5 separate regions of the Homo sapiens genome follow, and regions 1, 2, 3 and 4 are each linked to region 5. Evidence: promoter capture Hi-C in 16 types of primary human blood cells and fetal thymus (Javierre and others, 2016). All regions are on one chromosome and are shown on one strand. The core of a region is centred on a gene start or on the middle of the fragment in contact, and the rest is flanking DNA. Distances in the headings are between cores, read along the strand shown.

Evidence for each region. The method cuts DNA at HindIII sites, captures the fragments that hold promoters and counts their contacts. A CHiCAGO score of 5 or more calls a contact.
Region 1: the fragment with the promoter of MID2 here is called in contact with the fragment with the promoter of FRMPD3-AS1 in region 5 in 6 of 17 cell types (M0 macrophages, naive CD8 T cells, monocytes and 3 more); the score reaches 9.5 in M0 macrophages.
Region 2: a fragment that was not itself captured here is called in contact with the fragment with the promoter of FRMPD3-AS1 in region 5 in 2 of 17 cell types (M0 macrophages and non-activated CD4 T cells); the score reaches 5.5 in M0 macrophages.
Region 3: a fragment that was not itself captured here is called in contact with the fragment with the promoter of FRMPD3-AS1 in region 5 in 1 of 17 cell types (M1 macrophages); the score reaches 5.2 in M1 macrophages.
Region 4: a contact is called between a fragment that was not itself captured here and the fragment with the promoter of FRMPD3-AS1 in region 5, in 1 of 17 cell types (M2 macrophages). The highest score is 6.0, in M2 macrophages.

What each region holds. Positions count from the first base shown.
Region 1 is chrX:107,824,538-107,827,237 of GRCh38, forward strand. MID2 (midline 2) reads left to right here and starts at 1,329. Exons shown (of 10, transcript NM_012216.4): 1 at 1,329-1,893. The coding sequence starts at 1,890. RefSeq lists silencers at 1,747-1,936, 2,097-2,146. The HindIII fragment of the contact is 8,930 bases long and covers 1-2,700 here.
Region 2 is chrX:107,890,181-107,892,880 of GRCh38, forward strand. The region is part of intron 3 of MID2 (midline 2); the gene reads left to right. Among named protein-coding and RNA genes, the nearest start is that of MID2, 66 kb to the left of the region's middle. The HindIII fragment of the contact is 1,675 bases long and covers 594-2,268 here.
Region 3 is chrX:107,862,276-107,864,975 of GRCh38, forward strand. All of the region lies in intron 3 of MID2 (midline 2), which reads left to right. Among named protein-coding and RNA genes, the nearest start is that of MID2, 38 kb to the left of the region's middle. The HindIII fragment of the contact is 209 bases long and covers 1,169-1,377 here.
Region 4 is chrX:108,001,679-108,004,378 of GRCh38, forward strand. No RefSeq gene overlaps it. Among named protein-coding and RNA genes, the nearest start is that of TEX13B, 21 kb to the left of the region's middle. The HindIII fragment of the contact is 619 bases long and covers 1,026-1,644 here.
Region 5 is chrX:107,544,485-107,547,184 of GRCh38, forward strand. It overlaps FRMPD3-AS1 (FRMPD3 antisense RNA 1), which reads right to left and starts at 1,337. Exons shown (of 2, transcript NR_046750.1): 1 at 1,231-1,337. FRMPD3 (FERM and PDZ domain containing 3) reads left to right here. Exons shown (of 15, transcript NM_001388459.1): 5 at 1,253-1,357. The HindIII fragment of the contact is 5,600 bases long and covers 1-2,700 here.

The DNA.
Region 1 (2,700 bases), core at 79-2,578, 280 kb after region 5:
ATGTCTATTCAAGTCTTTTGTCCACTTTTAAGAGTTTTTTTTTTAATTGAGCTATAGAAGTTCTTTATACATTCTGGATATTAGCACATTATCCGATATATGGTTTGCAAATATTTTCTATCATTTTGTAGGTTGCTTTTTCACTCTGTTGATTGTGTCCTTTCCTGTGCAGATGTTTGAAAGTTTTATGGTCCCATTTACCTATTTTTGCTTTTGTTGCCTGTGCTTTAAGTGTGACTCACTAACTTTTACTTCTCTTAGGGGCCAGACTTTCATCAGGAGAGCCTGGTTGTGACTTTTGTCTTGGTTTCCACCTCAGTGCTCTCTAGCACATTGTTTAACAGGAGTGTTGACTGATTACTATTGGTTCCCTGAAGGGATATACCAAGAGATACCTCAATTTTTCTGGACTTGTTCCTATGCACAATGATGGGAGGCGTGTGTGTGTGTGTGCTGGGGTGAGTCTTCCCATTTTCTCATTTCTTTCCCCTTCTTCTCCCTTTTTGCCCCAAGTTAGAAACAGAGTCTCTTATGGGGCTTCCTGCTCTTTCCCTCTCCCATCCACCTTTTGAGTCGGGTGGTGGTCTCTGAGCCAATGACAGGTCAGCAAACAGGCTGATTCCAGACCAATGGGAGGATGCTGGATTCCAAATGGACCAATTAGCTTATTAGGGACCTGGAATAGCTGGATAGCTAGCATCTGCCTCATTGTCCATGTGGTAACGACCCTCTTGTTTTACTGGTCAACAATTTGAAGGTACAAGAAAAATCCTACTTTTTTTTTTCTTTTGATGGTTTTAATCCACCTCCACAACTTCTGCCCGAGGCCAATAAAACACAGCCATTCTTTTTTTGTAAAAAGAAAGAGAGGTTCGGTTTCCTTCAATTGTCTGCCCTTTTCTATCTCCTCCACTATTTTTGTTTTACTCTGTAGTTAACTTTGCATAGAGCAGCTTCATAGGGAGGATCTCTGCGGTGGACCCGGCTCTCTCTTCTTATTACCCGTTGCAAAGGCCTCTTTCTTGTTCTAACCTGGGGGTTTGTGGGGTTGGGGGACAGGGGGATTGGGGAGTGGGAGAAGAGTTTAGCCATAGCCTTCCTTCTGCATTTCACACACATTTAGCTATCTCTGTCGCTCTGTCACACACACACACACGCACATACACACCATACACACACACACGCACACCCGTCCGGGTCCCTCTCGGTGTGTCTTCCTTCAAGATGACAGGGCGCTGGAGAAAAGGCTGCTGGAATCAGCTGGTAGGTACAGTAGTAACCCGAGCCCCACCCACCGGCTGCCTTTGCTTGCTCAGGTTTCTCCGGTCACTCCTGCCAGGGGAGAAGACATGTAAACGTGCCTCCAGAGGAAGGGCTGGGGGAGCTGGGAGTGGCGGGGGCGGCGGAAGGTGAGCCTGGGAAGGTGGCCGAGCACCCCTTCTTCTTGGGCCCTTCCCAGTGCTCCCTTGGGGTGTCAGCCCCAGCCCCGTTTGCCCCCACTCCGCCTCCCTTTTGGAAGGGATTGCCTTTTTTTTCCTCTGCGGCGGCGGAAATGACAGTGTGGTGCTGCCGTGGTGTCATGGTGCTGCCCCTGGACTGAGGGGCGAAAACTCTTAAGTTTAGCTCGGGAGGCCCAGCTGCGGTAGCATCGCGGCCGCCGTGCTGTCCCCTGCGGGGCGCGCGGGCTGGCGGATCCCGGCTGCTGCGCGGCGTCGGCGACGGTAGCGGCAGCGGCGGCGAAGGCGGGCGGCGGCCTACAGTGGTAGCGGCGGCGGCGGCGACCGGGGCCCGGGAGCTCGCGCCGGAGCCCGAGCCAACCCGCTGCGGAGGCAGACGAGAGCCCAGCGCCCTCGAGCGAGCGGAGGAGATGGCTGGCACCTGGGAACGCTATGGGTAAAACGCGCCCCCTCGCCGCGGCCCTGGAGGTCGAGCGTCGTAGCCCTCGCAGGGCTAGTCTCCGGCTCCGGCCGCTTTTCAGGTGCCGCCGGGGCCCGGCGTTGGCCGAGGGCTCTCCGGCTCGGCGAGGCAGGGTGATGGGGCCCGCGAGGCTCGAAACGGCGACGGGGGCCCCAGCTCAGCTCCGGCTCTCAGTCATGCTGTTGGGGCCCGGGTTCCTGCCACTGCCCTCCTGGGACGGAGTTTGCACTCCGGGGTGCGGGGCGGGGGCGGCCGAGGCCTCTGCGCAGCCTGGCCGGGCCCGGCGCGGGCAGTCGAGCGAATCCCCCGGCGCCTGGGCGCGAGTCTGGGAAAGGGCACGGCCGCCTTCCCACGCTCCCGCAGCCGGCAGCCTCCTCGGCCCAGGCGTCGCCCCTTGGCCGGCCGTCTGCCGGGCGGTGCTGTCGCAGCAGCCGGCGTGGCTGCGGACGCCCTGCCGGCGGGGAGGCCCGGTGAAACTTAATCCCTTTTCTGCCAGGGAGCGATCCTCGAGTCTCCGTCTGGATGGTTCCTTATTTCTGGCCTAGCTGTGAAATCAGCTCTGTGGGGGAGAGGGAAAACTTACATATGTCCACAGGACAGACTGCGACGCAACCAGGGAGAGTGGGGATTTTCCATTCCTGCCTTGTAAGAATTAAGTAAATAACGGCGGAGTAGATTTACAGAAACATTACTGGTGATGATAAGGTTTAGGTTACTTAGCACTTCGTGTGTTGCACATTATTTTTCAGAGGTGTTTCTTCTTAGAGCAGGAAATTGAAATCC
Region 2 (2,700 bases), core at 181-2,680, 350 kb after region 5:
GAGGAAAGGCGCTCTGATTTTTAGAGTTTCCAGTTTTTCTGCTCTGTTTTTTCCCTATCTTTGTGGTTTTATCTTCCTTTTGTCTTTGATGATGGTGACGTACAGATGGGGTTTTGGTGTGGATGTCCTTTCTGTTTATTAGTTTTCCTTCTTACAGTCAGGACCCTTAGCTGCAGGCCTGTTGGAGTTTGTGGGAGGTCCACTCCAGACCCTGTTTGCCTGGGTATCAGCAGCAGAGGCTGCAGAACAGTGGATATTGGTGAACAGCAGATGTTGCTGCCTGATCTTTCCTCTGGAAGTTTTGTCTCAGAGGAGTACCCGGCCTTGTGAGGTATCAGTCTGCCCCTACTGGGGGGTGCCTCCCAGTTAGGCTACTCGGGGGTTAGGGATCCACTTGAAGAGGCAGTCTGTCTGTTCTCAGATCTCCAGCTGTGTGCTGGGAGAACCACTCCTCTCTTCAAAGCTGTCAGACAGGGACATTTAAGTCTGCAGAGTTTTCTGCTGCCTTTTGTTTGGCTATGCCCTGCCCCCAGAGATGGAGTCTACAGAGGCAGGCAGGCCTCCTTGAGCTGCGGTGGGCTCCACCCAGTTCAAGCTTCCCAGCTGCTTTGTTTACCTACTCAAGCCTCGGCAATGGTGGGTGCCCCTCCCCCAGCCTTGCTGCCACCTTGCAGTTTGATCTCAGAGTGCTGTGCTAGCAATTAGCGAGGCTCTGTGGGATTAGGTCCCTCTGAGCCAGGCGCAGGATATAATCTGGTGTGCCGTTTGCTAAGACCATTGGAAAAGCACAGTGTTAGGGTGGGAGTGACCCAGTTTTCCAGGTGCTGTCTCTCACCCGTTTCTTTGACTAGGAAAGGGAATTCCCTGACCCCTTGAGCTTCCTGGGTGAGGCGATGCCTCACCCTGCTTCGGCTCACGCTCGGTGCGCTGCACCCACTGTCCTGCACCCTCTTTCTGAGACTCCCCAGTGAGATGAACCCAGTACCTCAGTTGGAAATGCAGAAATCACCCGTCTTCTGCGTCACACACGCTGGGAGCTGTAGACTGGAGCTGTTCCTATTCGGCCATCTTGGCTCCATCCTCCTGTTTGTTTTATACCTTTTTTTTTTTTTTTTTTTGAGAAAGAGTCTCACCTTGTCACCCAGGCTGGAATGCAGTGGCGCAATCTCAGCTCATTGCAACCTCCGCCTCTCAGGTTCAAGTGATTCTCCTGCCTCAGACTCCCGAGTAGCTGAGATTACAGGCATGCGCCACCATGCCTGGCTATTTTTTGTATTTTTAATAAAGATAGGGTTTCACCATGTTGGTCAGGCTGAGCCTAAAACAGACCTCAAGTGATCTGCCCGCCTTAGCCTCCCAAAGTGCTGGGATTACAGGTGTGAACCACTGCGCCCAGCCCATCCTAATCAGGGCCTCTGACCCCCTTGGGGTTTTCCCCGTAGAAACCCCTTTGTTTATTTCTTGACTCACAAGGTAGTTGAGACCTCTGGAAATATGTTCTCAAGACCTCTTTGTTGCCCAGTCACAGAGTTCAGCGTTGGTTATTATTCTGAGGCTTCCCTTCCCTCTGATGCTTACAAACAGAATTCCTCTGGTCCTTGTCTTTCAGGCTCTTTCCTGGTACTTCCTATTTCTCTACTCCCTCAGCTTAGAAGCAACATAGGCTCTTCTTCAGCTATTTTCACTCTTCTACTTGGGCCCTTGCTTCTTCTGTTGGGCTGGAATCAGACTGTTTTCTGTCTGCCTGGAATCAGATTTTTTCCCTTTTGTCATCCAGAGTTCCCTGTCTCAGAAAGAATGACCTCTTTCTCATAACAATGCCCTTTTCGACCTTAGCTATGAGAGTTCAAATTTCCCTGGCCCTCCCAGTAGAAATTCCTTGCTCTGTATATATACAGGGAGTATCACGATGGTGAATCCATCCCTCAGAAACAAATGTCTTGGGAGGAGTGCTTATGTCAGACTTGAGTACAGAGAGTGGCTAAATGCTCCCCACAATCTGATCTGAGACTTAAGAAGGCGGAAACATTCACTGGCTTGCTTTGTTCTCCTCCCTTTCCATAATTCCTTGGTTGTGAAGGCAGTGAAAAGGATGGCCTTGGAAAAAGCCCTAGACTAGAAATCAGGAAACCTGGGTTCTGCTGCTGGCTCTGTCACCCACTAGTCACATGAACTTGGGTGGAACAGCCTGTGCAAACCTCTATTAGACTGCTTGCTCTTCCATGAAGGAATTTCTTGGTTACAGGCTGTTTCCTTGGTTGGACTAGAAGCTTCCTGAAGGTAGCAGCCATGGCCATGCCACAATCATTTTGGAAACTGCAGTTTCTAACTGGTCTCTCTGGCCCATCCTGTTCCCCTCCTATCCATTTTCCACATTGCTGTGGAAATGAACTTGTAAAATGCAAAACCTGTCATGTCACTCCCTACCACAAACCCTTTAATGGTTCCCCCACTGCCTTTAAAACCCATTATGATCTGGCCCCTACCTACCTCTCTAGCATGGTCTCCCAGACCTTTTTGCTGTCTTCGTCTTCTCTGCTGTGAATCTCCCCTTCCTCTAGCTAACTCTCATTCATTCCTTAAAAATATCACATCCTTAGGAAGCCTTCCTTGACCATCTAAGCTCCCCACTTGACAACTGTTGGTTAAATCCCCATCTTATAAGCACCCAAAGATTATCCTTTTTACGTGATAAACCTC
Region 3 (2,700 bases), core at 23-2,522, 320 kb after region 5:
CCTAGCCCTGACCTCAGGACTTCCAAAGCTTTTTATCACTATCTCTGAGAGTGGGGAGAACAATCATTCCCAAATACTCATAACCAATTTCAAATTTTACATATATCAACTAAAACTTTTCTTGGGAAGAGGGAGTGGTAATGAAATTGCAGCAGCAAAAATATTGGGTACCTTGGCCATGTGACTCCACCTAGCCCACCAGTAACTCTGCAGATGTGATAGACTAAAAAGGGTTATTGTGCTCAATAAGCTGCTAGTTTGCAGTTACTAATTTAAACAAATTTTATTTAGTAAGGAAACATTTACTGCCCTTCTGCAAGAATATCCAAAAGATTCTTCGTGTTGATACTTAAGTAAATTTGCCCATTATCCTGCCCAAATTCTTCTTGATTACTGCCTTTAAGCAAAGCCAAAAGAAAAGTTTTAGGGAGGGTCACATGCTTTCATCTCTAGTAATTTTAAAAAGAGAGAGTTCTATAATTTTGTATTTGCGATTTAAAATGTTTATTAGCAAAAATGTTCTGTGAATATTTTTGTTAGAGATGGAAGAGCAAGGGGAGCAGACTTAAGAGCTCCTGAGAAAGATTTGAACTGCTAGTGTCTTGTGAAAATGAAATACCTAGTTTGAAACCACTGTGGAATTATAGATGGAGAAAATTGTTTCCATGAAAAATGGAAAATAAGTTCAGTGATCCAGTCAATCTATTCATTTATACTACTGTAGTGACTAATTCAGAGTATTACATTCAATCTTATTAAGAATATAACGATTGACATTTAATATAGATGAAAAACCTAAGTTAACTGTGCAATCCAGTGTGTGGTCATAGCCTATTTTTATACTAGAAAAGAAAGTGCTTTATAATTTTTCAGAGACCTAATGCATTCAATCCTTTTTAAAAAATACTTTGTGACAATTCTTCATTTATGTCAGTAAAGTAACATTTTTGAAGACATTAAATGTTGCAGTTGAAATACTTGGAGGGTATTAACACATGACAGGGTTTAAGGATAAAATTAGTTAGGATTAATATTGTTTTCCTCGCCCTCCTCCCTCACATCTATAGGGCAGGTAAGCTTTCAGGTGTGGTCATGTCTTCATAGCCGAAACAGTTCACATAGGAATGCACTTTCATCCCACTTTTGCACTTTTCCTTTGGCACAGTGAAGCTTATCTTACAGTCCCGTTTCCCATCCCTCCTCTAGTTCTCATTTCTGTGTTCAAATTCCAGGTCACTCACTAAATGACCAGAAGACTTGCTTAATTTTGGCTCCTCTTGTTTGCTCCACTATTTTCACAATCCACCCAAATTCCCCATTTCCAGTGTGCTCTTGGAAAGTTAATGGAATCTTAATAATTCAGCTAAGGCTCTATCAAGCTTATCCTATACCTTGAAATGTTTCTAGTTCCACTTTTACCTCTAATCTCTCCTGCCATCAACCCAACTAAAACTAAACAAATGTTTTAAAAACCCAGACTTGAAACCAAAACAACTATCACCACAGCAGATAGGCACACAGCCATTGAGATGTCCTTACTGTCTCTGCCTGTCTAGAGGAGTCCAGCTCTGTGGTACGGTAAGCAAGGATTGGGAGGAAGAGAATCTTACTTGAATAATTTGTTCTGGGCACTGTGCTAGAGACATCATTTCTAATCTCACTTAGTGTTTATGACAATCCTGTGATACAGCTGGTTAATATTCCCATTTTTCAAGTGAGGAACTTGAAGGCCAGAGATATTAGATGCCTTACTCAAGGTCACACATAAGTAAGCTGGGATGCAGTTCTACATTTCTCTCACTCCAAAGTCTATGTTCTTTCCATTGCATTGTGCAGCCTAGTGGAGAAGTTGTTGGTTTACTTGCCACCGATTCATTTGTGCTCAGATAGGTAGGAGGCAGCTCCAGAAAACCCTTTGTTTTTCTCCACTAAATAGCTCTAGCTCTAGAAAAACATATGGTCTGTTTGGGGGCCTGGCGTTCCTGAATCTGTGGTAAGCCTCTTATGTACTCCTGCCATTGGCCTACCTTTAATAGCCCAGAGCAGCTCTCCATATTCTGACAGCCCTTCATGGGGTACAGAGGAGAGGGAGTTGCCTAGAGTTGGCAGAAGGAAGCAATAATACCCACAATTAGGCATTTACTTGCTCAGATTATTTTTGTGCCATGAGGGGTGGAAATAGTGTGGGCAGCTCCAGGTATCAACACTGTCCTCAGCCATAGAGTTTACGCTGGGACCCATATTTTCTTGCTGAGACTGCCGGGATGGGTCCTCATTCTAGGGCTGTACATGACCATGTTTCAGGGTAAAAGTAGTCTCCATGAGACACAGGGTTTCTTAACAGTTACTAAGAGTTTGACAGTAAAGATGTACTCTCAAAAGTATAATTAATGTTTGCACATTTAAAACAGGATATAAATAACAAATATAATACCACAATGACTGCAAATATATAGATTTCCTCAAAAAAGAGTGAATGCATTGCTATTATTAATGGTGTCTTTTGATGGAATGATTACTTAGAAGTACACATACAGCCAGGAAATCAGCTATTTACTACCTCAAGACAGAAAGAGAATCCAATGCCTCTGTCTATTCTCACTACCTCTCCTCTCACCTAAATCAAATCTTGAATCCAAGTTTACCCTATCTCAGCCAGTCCTAAGAACTCTTAATTATTCCTAAGAGCTTTAAATACAT
Region 4 (2,700 bases), core at 85-2,584, 460 kb after region 5:
CTGCTTACAGAAGTGCATAGGGCTGTAGGAGCAAAGCCAAAAGACGCTCCCCACCAGTCACACACCCTAGAAAGGCGGAGAAAGGGAAAAGGAAAGAAAAAATATAATAATATCATAGGAAAATAGACAAAAAATCCTACCTGTAAAAAATAATTAAAAAATTAGAAAGTGCTAGTGTCTCTAGAAGAGAAGAAGCCATTGCAAGAATTCTGACACCATGAAAAACCTGAATGTAGTGAAACTACCAAAGAATCACACTAGCTCTCCAGCAATGGTGGCTAATCAAAATGGAAACTCAGAAACAACAAAGAATTCAAAGCATGGATTGCAAGAAATCTCAATGGAATCCAAGACAAGACTGAAAATCAACACAAAGAAATTTCTAAAGCAATCCAGGAAATGAAAGATATAAACATCTTAAAAAGAAATCAATCAAAGCTTCTGGAATAGAAAAACTCACTTAAGGAATTTCAAAATGCAACTGAAAGCTTTATCAATAAACTAGACCAAGCAGAAGAAATAATTTCAGAGCTTGAAGACCTGTTTTTTGAACTAACCCAGTCAGACAAAAATAAAGAAAAAAGAATTTAAAAAATAAAGTCTATGAAAAATGTGGGACTATGTAAAGTGGCCAAAACTATGAATTGTTGGCTTTTCTGAGAGAGATGGAGAAAAAAGTAAACAACCTGGAAAATATATTTGAGAGAATAATTCAAGAAAAATTCTTAAATCTTGCTAGAGAAGTAGACATCCAGATACAAGGAATTCAGAGAACACCTGTGAGATACTATACAAAGTGATCACCACCAAAGCATATAGTCACCAGATTTTTCAAGGTCAACACTAAAGAAAAAAATCTTAAAGGCAGCTAGAGTAAAAGGTCAGCTCATATACAAAGGGAACCCCATCAGGCTAATGGCAGACTTCTCAACAGAAACCTTGCAAGCCACGAGAGATTGGGGGCCTAGTTTAGCCTTCTTAAAGAAAAGAAATTCCAACCAAGAATTTCCTATCCTGCCATGCTAAGCTTCATAAGCAAAGGAGAAATAAAATATGTTCCAGACAAGTAAGTGCTAAGGCAATTTGCTACCACTAGACCAGCCATACAAGGGATCCTTAAGTGAGTTCTAAACATGTAAATGAAATATGATACCTGCCAAAAAACACACTTAAGTACATAGCTCACAGACCCTATAAAGCAACCATACAATTGAAAGTACAAAGAAACCAGCTAACAACTTCACACTTTTCTCAAAACCTCACATATTAATGTTGACCTTGAATATAAATGATCTAAATGCCCCCACTTAAAAGGCACAGAGTGGCAAGTTGGATTAAAAAAAGATCCGTCCATCTTCTGTCTTCAAGAGACTCATCTCACACTTAATGATGTTCATAGGCTCAAGGTAAAGGGTTGGAGAAAGGTCTATCACATAAAAGGGAAACAAGCAAGAGCAGGAGTCACTATTCTTACATCAGATAAAAGAGACTTTAAACCGACAACAGTAAAAAAAGACAAAGAAGGGCATTACATAATGTCAAAGGGTTCAATTCAACAAGAAGACTTAATTATCCTAAATATATGCACACACCAACATTGCAACACCCAGATTCATCAAACAAGTACTTCTAGATCTATGAAAAAGCTTAAATAGTCACACAATAATAGCGGGGGACTTCAATACCCCACTGACAGCATTAGACAGATCATCAAGCAGAAAACTAACAAAGAAATTCTGGACTTGAGAATTGAAACCAAAATGACACTTGACCAGTTGGATCTAATAGACATCTACAGAATACCCCATCCACTAACTGCACAAAATATACATTCTTCTCAACTGCATACTAAACATACTCTAAGAAAGACCACATGCTTGGCCGTAAAGCAAGTTTCAATAAATTAAAAAAAAATTAAACTCATACCAGCCATACACTTGGAACACAGTGGAATACAAATAGAAATCAATACCAAGAAGATCTCTCAAAACCACACAATCATATGGAAATTAAACGGTTGGCTCCTGAATGGCTTTCGGGTAAACAATTAAATTAAGGCAGAAATTAAAAAAAATTTGAAATAAATAAAAACAGAAACACAACATGACAACATCTCTGGGAGACAGCAAAAGCAGTGTTAAGGGGAAAGTTCATAGCACTAAATGCCTACCTCAAAAAGTTAGAAAAATCTCAAATTAATGATGTGACATCACACTTAGAGGAACTAGAAAAACAAGAACAAACTAACTGAAAATCTAGCAGAATAAAATAAATCAGGGAAAAATTGAGAAAAATTGAGACCAAAATTTCATAAAAAGCATTAAATAACAAACCAAAAGTGTATTTGAAAGGATAAACAGGATTGAAAGAATGCTAGCTACATTGACAAAGAAAAAAGAGGGAAGATCCAAATAAGCACAATCATAAATGACAAAGGTGACATTATAACTGATCCAAGAAATACAAAAGATCCTCAGAGGTTATTATGAACACCTCTATGCACACAAACTAGAAAATCTAGATGAAATGGGTAAATTCCTGAAAACACACAACCTTCCAAGACTAAATCAGGAAGAAACGGAAACTCTGAACAGACCAATATAGAGTTCTGAAATTGAATCAGGAATAAAAAGCCTACCAATCAAAAATGCCCCAGACCAAATGGATTCACAGCCAAATTCCACCAGATGTACAAAGAAT
Region 5 (2,700 bases), core at 87-2,586:
TCTGTCTATTCCTGCTGGAATGGATGCTCCATGAGGCCAGGGAGTTTTGTCTGTCTTATTCACTGCTCTATCCCTCATCACCTAGAACAGTGTGTGGCATGTAGTAGGCCCTTGCTAAATTTGTCAAAAGAATGAATAAACGCCCCCCCAAAGACAATGAGGATGCCCCTCAGCACGACTCCTGTATTCCTAATTGCTGGGCCTTACAGAGCTCAGCAGGGAGCTAGAATCCAAGGGGCACCCAGGAAAGGCTTAGTTTCCAGTGTTTGCTAATCATGCTTCTGATAAAATTGTGGGAGAGTTTTCAAGAACTAAAAAGCCAGCCAGGCATGGTGGCCTGTAAGCCCAGTACTTTGGGAGGCTGAGGCAGGTGGATCACCTAAGGTCAGGAGTTCAAGACCAGCCTGGCCAACATGGTGAGACCCCATCTCTACTAAAAATACAAAATTAGCTGGGTGTGGTGGCACATGACTGTAATCCCAGCTACTCAGGAGGCAAGGCTGGAGAATCGCTTGAACCCAGGGAGCGGAGGTTGCAGTGAGCCGAGATTGCACCATTGCACTCCAGCCTAGGCGACAAGAGTGAAACTCCGTCTAAAAATAAATAAATAAATACAAGCCTGGCTGATTTTTTGGGCATTTCTTACAGAATTGGATAAACAAAGTGGTGCAGAGCCCAAAACTAGAAAGCCAGAAGACTTGGGTTAAATCTCTCACATCTCTATTCCCCAATAGTGTAGTAACTGTGGATAAATCCTTTTGGAGTGCTAGGTCTCCTTTCTCCCACATCTAAAATAGTATTTATTATGCAACTCCTTCCTAGGGGCAGGACATGTCTGTGAGGTGAACAAGATCATTTCTGTAAATTATTTGGGATGCTTATATTCAGATATAATAATAATAATAAAAAGACACCCTTTAGGTCTATCTCACTGTAAGAAAACCAAATATATAAAAACTCAATGTATGTTATTACTAAAGAACTTTTGCAAACTCCCCTAGGCCTAGAGTATTAATAATGGGGTTCAATCTACCCAAATTCAATTCATGCCCAGCTGTTTCAGAACACACCAATTACATAGGGAAGCATTTAGCACATTGCCTTGCAACTAATAGGTAATTAATATTTGTTTATTGACTCCTTGATCAGTAATGCAAAGTGTACCTGTACTGGGACATCTTAACTCTGACGTGACAAAGGTTAGGCTTTCCCTAGATATGGAGAACTCACCATCTCTCTGTTCTTTTTCCAGTCCCCCAAATCTGCTTTCATCAGTGCTGCGAAGAAGGCCAAGTTGAGGTCCAATCCTGTGAAGGTTCGATTTTCTGAGCAGGTGGCAGTTGGAGAAACAGATGCAGTAAGTGTAGCTTTGGCTCCCTCTCCTCAGCCCCTGGCCATAATCTGCCTGGCTGTCAAGCTCTCGCTCTGGGGCTTCTTATAGTGGACAGCTTTCCGAATGGGTTAGAGTGGGAGCGTCCAGGTGCTGGAGGGGGAAAAGTAGTGAGTGAAGAGGGATACGTGACATCCAGAGAGGCCCCAGGCATTGTGGGGAGAAGGAATATATATTGATTCACTCAAGATCCTTCTGATGCTTAGAGAAATTTCCATCCCTAACACAGTAGCTTACACTCAAAGCAAGTGCTCCATAAACATCTTTTGCTACTTGATAGAAACAGGAAGGAAATAATGGCTTCCTGAAGACTCAGGGAATGAGTGGCTGGTGAAATTGAGCTCTCTTCACATTTAAGTGATCTTGCAACTCCACATCTTGACCAGAAAAGGCCATGCAGTGGTGAGTAAAGTTGCCTAAAGGAAATGATACAGACTCTCATTAAGTCACCAAGTTTTTATTAGGCACCTGCTATGTTCTTAGCACCAGAGGGGAGGCAAAATAAATACCTGTTCCCTGCTACCAGATACCTCTCAGCAATGTTGAGGGGGACAAGAGGTTCAGATTGAGACAATACAAAATCTACTACGGGGTGGTATTGTTTCGAAAGACAGGTAATATTTGACAGCCCATGCCATGCAGCTGCCAATTTGGGGAGTCTTGGCCAGCCACAGTGTTTCTCACTGCTTTGGGAGGTTTACATGCAGTGAACTGTCGGCTCCAGATGTGCAAATGAGAAGAGGCAGGTGAAGAGCAGAAAAGAAGTGTGTTAAGCAGTCATGCATTCTGGCCGAGTCCTTCAGGAATCTGCAGAAGTTAGTGATAACCTGGTGGGGACAGAGGGGATAGCTAGAGCTAACAGGCACTTGTGTGCTTTTGATAGCTGTGATGGGCAGAGCTGTCTGGAGGCCCTTGGCATTTACGTACTGAGGAACAGCCACAGTTGTTGGGAGAAGATAGCAGGCCCAGAGCAGGGAAATCAGCAGGGTGCCAGGCGCTTCTATATTATTTAAGGCAGAATTAGTGAGAAGAAGGTATAGAGGACACAGGTGTCTTCCATCTCCATTTCCCTGACTCTCATTCCCAAACTCAGTCTATGCCCTCCTCCATCTCTGCATGAGGAAGGCTGGCAAACCCAGGGGACTACAGGACCCCACTGGGCAAGCTGTCTGAATAATTGATGGTTGGGATCTGTGTCAATCCTAGAAGAAAAGTTTTAAGAGAAGTGATCATTGATGAGCAGAGGGGAAAAGGAGTAATATGGAGTCCCTGCAAATCAGGGTGAAACAGACCCCGAGGTCCAAGTCACC